2 separate regions of the Homo sapiens genome follow, and region 1 is linked to region 2. Evidence: promoter capture Hi-C in human tissues and cell types (Jung and others, 2019). All regions are on one chromosome and are shown on one strand. Each heading gives the region's core, a stretch centred on a gene start or on the middle of the fragment in contact. The rest is flanking DNA. Distances are from core to core; before and after follow the strand shown. Region 1 overlaps CFAP70 (cilia and flagella associated protein 70). Region 2 holds the start of ANXA7 (annexin A7).

The links. Contacts are between HindIII fragments. The study calls those that stand out against the background at their distance.
Region 1: a fragment that was not itself captured here is called in contact with the fragment with the promoter of ANXA7 in region 2 in 1 of the 25 tissues and cell types used here (hippocampus).

What each region holds. Positions count from the first base shown.
Region 1 is chr10:73,353,511-73,356,940 of GRCh38, forward strand. CFAP70 (cilia and flagella associated protein 70) reads right to left here. Exons shown (of 28, transcript NM_001367801.1): 2 at 1,224-1,325; 3 at 46-232. The coding sequence starts at 1,286. Among named protein-coding and RNA genes, the nearest start is that of CFAP70, 3.6 kb to the right of the region's middle. The HindIII fragment of the contact is 5,225 bases long and covers 1-3,430 here.
Region 2 is chr10:73,412,253-73,415,620 of GRCh38, forward strand. It overlaps ANXA7 (annexin A7), which reads right to left and starts at 1,806. Exons shown (of 13, transcript NM_001156.5): 1 at 1,760-1,806. RefSeq lists enhancers at 820-939, 950-1,029 and a silencer at 1,430-1,989. The HindIII fragment of the contact is 7,160 bases long and covers 1-3,368 here.

The DNA of each region.
Region 1 (3,430 bases), core at 15-2,514, 59 kb before region 2:
AAGAAGGCAATCGGGACATTGATTTTTAGAACCACAAGGACTTACAGAACACAGGTTTGTGAGCGAGGTCATCTGAAGTGATTCCTCCTTCAGGATTAAACTCAAAACTGCTAGTGAAGTTGTATTTTGCACTTCCTTCTGGAGAAACAGTAATTTTTGCAGAGTCTCCCAGAACCACTTGATTGAATTCTGCTCGAATAAAGGTAACTGGAGTATCTCCTTTAAAACCTTTCTGTTGGCAGAAACACACCACTTTACAATTATATTCAAATAGAGAATTTTCCCACACATCTGGTAACCCATTTTGATTTGGGCTAAATAGCATTTTTCATTTTTTCCTAACGAGCAACATCACAAATACAAAAGGAATAGGTAGAAAAATCATTAAACAAATCTAGTTTTACTTAAATGCAACATTCCATTGAAGTGCTGTTATGTTGGAGTCTTGAAAATAACATTTATTGTGTTTCACCTAATAATAAAAGTATACTGTGGAACATTTTTTTTTCTGTTTGTTTGTTTGTTTTGAGACGGAGTCTCGCTCTGTCACCCAGGCTGGAGTGCAGTGGCGCGATCTCAGCTCACTGCAAGCTACTGAGGAACATTTTTAAAAGTAAGAAAATTAATTACCTACAATCTTACTGTAACATGCAAGCATTATTAATATTTTAGAATATATTTTCTAGTGTTCTGCTGTGAATATATGGATGTACGTGTGTGTACCCATACATGCACACATAGATACATTTTTATATATGCATTTTAAAACAAAGTGGAGCTCATTAATTACATCCTCTTTGGAATGATCTTTTTAAACTTAATATACTGAATATTTTCCCATTTCATCATATTCCTAATTTTTAGTACATCACATTGTTGTTGTTTTTTTAATTAATCAAATAGAATTAATCACAAGGGAAACTCTGGAAGAATTCAGATCCTTCTCAGGAGAAAGGGAAAAAAATTATACGTGAACTGCTGTCTAGGGAAACTAAAACCACTGTTTCTTTCATCCTGTTAAATTTAGTATTCAAATTGCCGGGTATTTGAGACACACAGTAATGTGACTTGGAGATTAAGACTAACAATAAGGAACACTGAGGCGGAATGCCACTGCTACATAAAGCCAGGAGGTTTGGAGGTAGAGAATGAAGCAAAATTCCATTCCTCCTGCAGGTACTCCCAAACTAAGGATTTTTGTAAATTTCCAAAAGTAACTTTACCAAATCATATCCCTCTGTCACGGTGATCTGCACGAGTCTGCCTGCTGATGGCACTTGCTCCATATCACCAACTGGGAAAAGTCCCTCTGTTTTCTTTGGTCTCTGTAAACAGAATGAATCAACCTGTCCCCTCATGTACCACAGCTGCACAAGTACCCATATTCCATCATAACCAATACCAGGGAAAACCTAAGGAAATGCCATAGTCCAGCACTGTTTTATTCCCCATATCCAACCTTTGCTGTTGGACAGGCAGTGCTTTAGGGAGCTGGTCACAAGGATGATTTCACTGGTAGCGCTAAAGATGTTTATACAGGTAACTAACCCATTAAGCACAAAGTATCACAAGACAAAGTAGGAACACCTTGACCTCCCATACCCTACATCAGGGGTCCCCACCCCGAACCATGAACCAGTACCAGCCCGTGGCCTGTCAGGAACTGGGCTGTACAGCAGGAGGTAAGCAGCAGGCGAGCAAGCAAAGCTTCATCTCTATTTACAGCCACTCTGCATCACCTGCATTACCACCTAAGCTCTCTCTCCTGTCAGATCAGTGGCAGCATTATATTCTCACAGGAGTGCGAACCCTATTGTAACTGATGCATGCAAAGGATCTAGGTTGTGCACTCCTTATAAGAATCGAATGCCTGATTTGTCACTGTCTCCCATCACCCCCAGATAGGACTGTCTAGCTGCAGGAAAACAAGCTCAGGGCTCCCACTGATTCTACATTATGGTGAGTTGTATAATATTTCATTATATAGGCTAGGCACGGTGGCTCACGCCTGTAATCCCAACACTTTGGAAGGCGAGGCGGGCGGATCACCAAGTCAGGAGTTCGAGATCAGCCTGTCCAATACGGTGAAACCCCATCTCTACTAAAAAATTCAAAAATTAGCCAGGTGTGATGGCACATGCCTGTAAGTCCCAGCTACTTGGGAGGCTGAGGCAGGAGAATCGCTTGAACACGGCAGGCAGAGGTTGCAGTGAGCTGAGATCACACCACTGAACTCCAGCCTGGGCAAAAGAGTGACTCCGTCTCAAAACAAAAAAATTTCATTATATATTACCGTGTAATACTAATAGAAATAAAGTGCACAGTAAATGTAATGTGGTTGAATCATCCCCGCTGCCCCCAGTCTGTGGAAAAATTGTCTTCCACGAAACTGGTCCCTGGTGCCAAAAAGGTTGGGGACTGCTGCCATACACTGTTCACAGTGTTCTCTGGTAACCGTTTTTTTTAATCTGCAAAGCTCCCTTCAAACATTATTTAACTTCTCAGTTTTACAAAAATATATTTTGAGAGCAGGAAAGAAGCAGCCACACAAAATGGTAGTCCACTGGAAAAGGTCTTAATGTATTTCTTATTTAGTCAGATATACTGTCAATTTTACAATACTAAGGGCACAAACAATTTCGATAATAAATTGGATATTTGTTTTTTGGAAAAGGTCTTTTATCTCTCCTTCCTTCCTTTTTTTTTTTTTCAGGCTCTCATTCTGTCACCCAGGCTGGAGTGCAGTGGTGTGATCACAGCTCACTGCAGCTTCAACCTCCCAGGCTCAAGTGATTGTCCCACCTCAGCCTCCTGAGTAGCTGGGACTACAGGCATGCGCCACCACGCCCAGCTAATTTTTGTATTTTTTGTAGAGACAGGGTTTCACCATGCTGTCTAGGCTGGTCTCGACGGCTAGGCTCAAGCAATCCACTCACCTCAGCCTCCCAAAGTGCTGGGATTAAAAGGCATGAGCCACTGTGCCTGTTGAAAAGGCCTTATTTTCTAACTCAATTCAAACATTTACTGAGGACATACTATGCTAAGTGTACTTGGTGATACAAAAGAGAAAACAACATCTTACAGCCTTCAGACTTTATAATTATCCTGCCTCTTCTCAGCTACTCCAGCATTTTTCCAGTCACCTAAAAGTGTCAAATCATTTGTTCAACAACATATTTCTGGGCTCTTTAAGGGCTTTAGTGGCACTGACAACTTCTTTGTCAAATGTACATTTGAAATGCCCTTTTGTATCAGTCTTCTTTCCTTTTCAATAATATGGCATTAGGCCTTCATTACCCTTCTGCTAGACTGTAACAAAAGCCTCCTAACTGGTGTCTCTGACTCCAGTTTCTCACTCTAATTCATCCTGCTTTTGTCAGAATTGCTCATTGAAAAAACTTGTTAAGCTTGGCACTGTGATGGGTGCTGA
Region 2 (3,368 bases), core at 556-3,055:
TCTCGATCTCCTGACCTCGTGATCCTCCCGCCTAGGCCTCCCAAAGTGCTGGGATTACAGGCGACAGCCACTGCGCCCGGCCGAGACTTACTTTTCAATGTACTTTAGCCCTTTTAGAATTGTACATATATCATTTATTCAAGAGGCAGATTTTAAACGTTTTTGTAAAAAGCTAAATAACACCCAGAGTGACTCAAAAAATTTCTCAACTTTGCCCAAGTGAATAGTAAGTCTAGAGTTTTTTGGGTTTTTTTTTTTTTTGTGACAGAGTTTCTCTCTGCCGCCCAGGCTGGAGTGCAGTGGCGATCTTGGCTCACTGCAACCTCTGCCTCCCGGGTTCAAGCGACTCTCCTGCCTCAGCCTCCAGAGTAGCTGGGATTACAGGCGCGCGCCACCACGCCCAGCTAATTTTTGTATTTTTAAGTAGAGACGGGGTTTCACCGTGTTGGTCAAGCTGGTCTCAAACTCCTCCTGACCTCGTGAATCTCTCGCCTCGGCCTCCCAAAGTGCTAGGATTACAGGAGTGAGCCACCGCGCTCGGGCTTTTTTTTTTTTTTTTTTAAACATTCTCTGTTAGCAATCACTTTTAAAAGACTAGAAAATCATTTTTGGTTTTCCAAACCACCTCCACCCAGTGAGTCAGTTAGTAAAAGGGCTGGGTCTCACCGTTTCTCATTGATGGCATGAAGCCCAGGAACCCAAGAGGCAGCTGTTGCAAATTTATGGGGGAAAAAATACACGAAACAGGAAGGGTGACTGAAGATACGCGCAACAGCGAATACAATTTTGCAAAACCGGCTTCTAGGTATGGTAGGATCATTTAAATCCGTCAGTGATGTGGAGAAAGAACATGGAGGCATGGCTAGTCCTCTGCACGGACAGGTAGGTAGCCAACCACCAGTGAGGACTGAAAGACAGTCCTCACTGAAAAGGACTGAAAGTTTGCAGTGGCCAAAATTATCTCTTTTACCTATTCAGTGCTTGAAACTCTTTCCTTGCCTGGAAGGTAACTCATTACACTCATCATCTAATTCGGACACATTTAGCAGATTAGCTGGCCATCAGCTGGCAAAAATCAGGGCGTTTACGGCAGTCGGAAGACAACAGCGTCATGTCTGTCACTTTACGGTGGACATCAGCCATCTACCTCTGCACCTTGGTTTCCTTGCGCAGTGTTTGCACAGGATGAGCTAATTTCAACACAGATTTGCTGCTGGTCGGGGAACAGCAATCAAATCTGGAATGCTATTCTAGAATAGCTTCCAAGAACTGTAAACGAGAACCAGTGTACGACCTTGGCCTGGCGCATTCTGTCCTACGGTTCACTAAACACAGTAAAAATTTCCCCAAGTTTCCCTAAATTCGCTGTGTCACCGGAAAGTACAGCCACTACCAGCCAGACGGCTTTCAGCACTGCCCGTGCGTTTCCCTACTCAGCCTCCCGCGAGGCAGCTGGGCCACGCTCCGGCCTCAGCCCCTCCACCTGCCCGAGGGCGGGGCGCCACTGGTCCCTGGGATTTCCAAACGGACGGAAGGGCTTCCCGTAAGCCAGGCCGGCCGCCTCACCCACGCCACCCCAACACACCCCGGCCGGCAGCCCGGCTACGAGACGCGCAAACCGAGTCGCCGCCATCCGGGAGGCCCACACTGCCCTCCAGCCGCGCCCCACTAGCACCGGGACAGCAGCGCCCAGAGCTGGCCGAGGGCAAGACCACCGAGGCAGACGAGGTGGGAAAGGGAGGGGGGCGCCGCTCCTCACCTGACCCCAGCAGCAGCGTCACAGCCCAACCCGGTCTCCCGCAAGATGGAGCCGGGGGCGGGCCCAGGGTGGGCGGGGCGTCTCGCGAGCCCGTTAGGATCGCGGCTGCAGCCGGGAACACCCCCGGAGCCGGAGAGGGCGCTGCGGGGAGCGGGCTGTCCCTCAGTCCCGCCCCTAGGCGCCACCTGAGGGAAAAAGACTCTCCCTTCGGGTGGCCCAGCGGATTTTTAATCACATTTATCTGTCGCAAGGACCCTGCACCAATCCCTTTTAAGGCTGCCTCAAGTCACCTAGGAAGTTGCAGCAGTCCTGGGGGTATCCGGGGCCCCTTCAGTGGCGGGCGGTAGAGAAGGGCTGAGACTGGGAGGCTGGTGCAGCCTCCCCGCCTCTGAAATACCGTCCTCCAGGTATTTTCTGGGGACAAAGACGGCGTTTTTTGTTAGCCTCCTGTGAAAGTAATATTTGTGGGAAATCTTAGTTGGAACTGTAGATGAACTAATCAAAATCACTCCCGAAAGGAGTTGTTAGGTGATTTTAGGCTCCCCTCGTGGCTACAGCATTGAACACACATTAGCATTAAACATTTGAGGCAATTACGAGGGCTCAGATCAATATTTTAAACTCGTTAAGGAATTTATATTACAGAGAAAACCAATCAGCTACCTTTTAGAGTGGTAAAAGGTAGCTTCTGGGTGTGGTCCCCCGAACAGCAGCATCACCTGGAAACGTGTTAGTAACGCAGATTATTGAACTCCACCTTAGACCTACTGAATCAAACTCCCCGGGTGGTGCCCAGCAACCTGTTTTAACAAGCCTTCCAGGTGGTTCTGATGCACACTAAAGTTTGCACATCTGATGCACATCAACTTACTTATTCCTCTACACACTTTTCTACCCAAAAGCTTCCTCATGGGGGTGGAATAGAGTGGATTACGATTTTAAATGGGAAGAGCAAGCAAAATATACGTGGCTTCCAAATAGGTGTGTGGAGTGAAAAGTATTTGAGGCAGGTCATTGCCTCATTTAACAATGGTAGACAAAATGCACAACTCTCTAGGTGACCAGCATTAATTCCCCGGCGCCCAACAGTCTGTCTACCTGGAAAATAACAGGACTTTCTGTCCTACCTACCCCAGAGACCTCCAGGATTTAAGCCTTCCCTGAGAAGCCTACTCTGTTCATTCTAGAGTTCCCTTTGTGAGCTCGTTCCAAACCCTCCCTCTGCCTTAAATACCACCATAACAGGGTATTTGCCAAACCTCTTATTTCCAGCCCACTTTCCTGAGCTGCAGGAATAGTCCAATAGTCTACTACGACATTTGCCATTTCATCCTTTCAATTCATCCTTTCTTCCTGGCATAAAAGGCGTTACAGGATCGGAGACCCTTTCCTCCTGCTACCTCTGCTTAGAAAGCACTGCTCATCTTTTAACAATTACTCATCTTAATTAGACTTGTTTTCAAGGTTGCTCATCTCCGTCTTGCTCCAATAAACTCTTCCTGATCTTCTTTTTTGTACTCAACTGGACCATTTTAATTTTTTAATTTTTTTGGAGACAGAGTCTTGCTCTGTCACCCAGGCTGGAGTGCTGTGGTGCGATCTAGGCTCA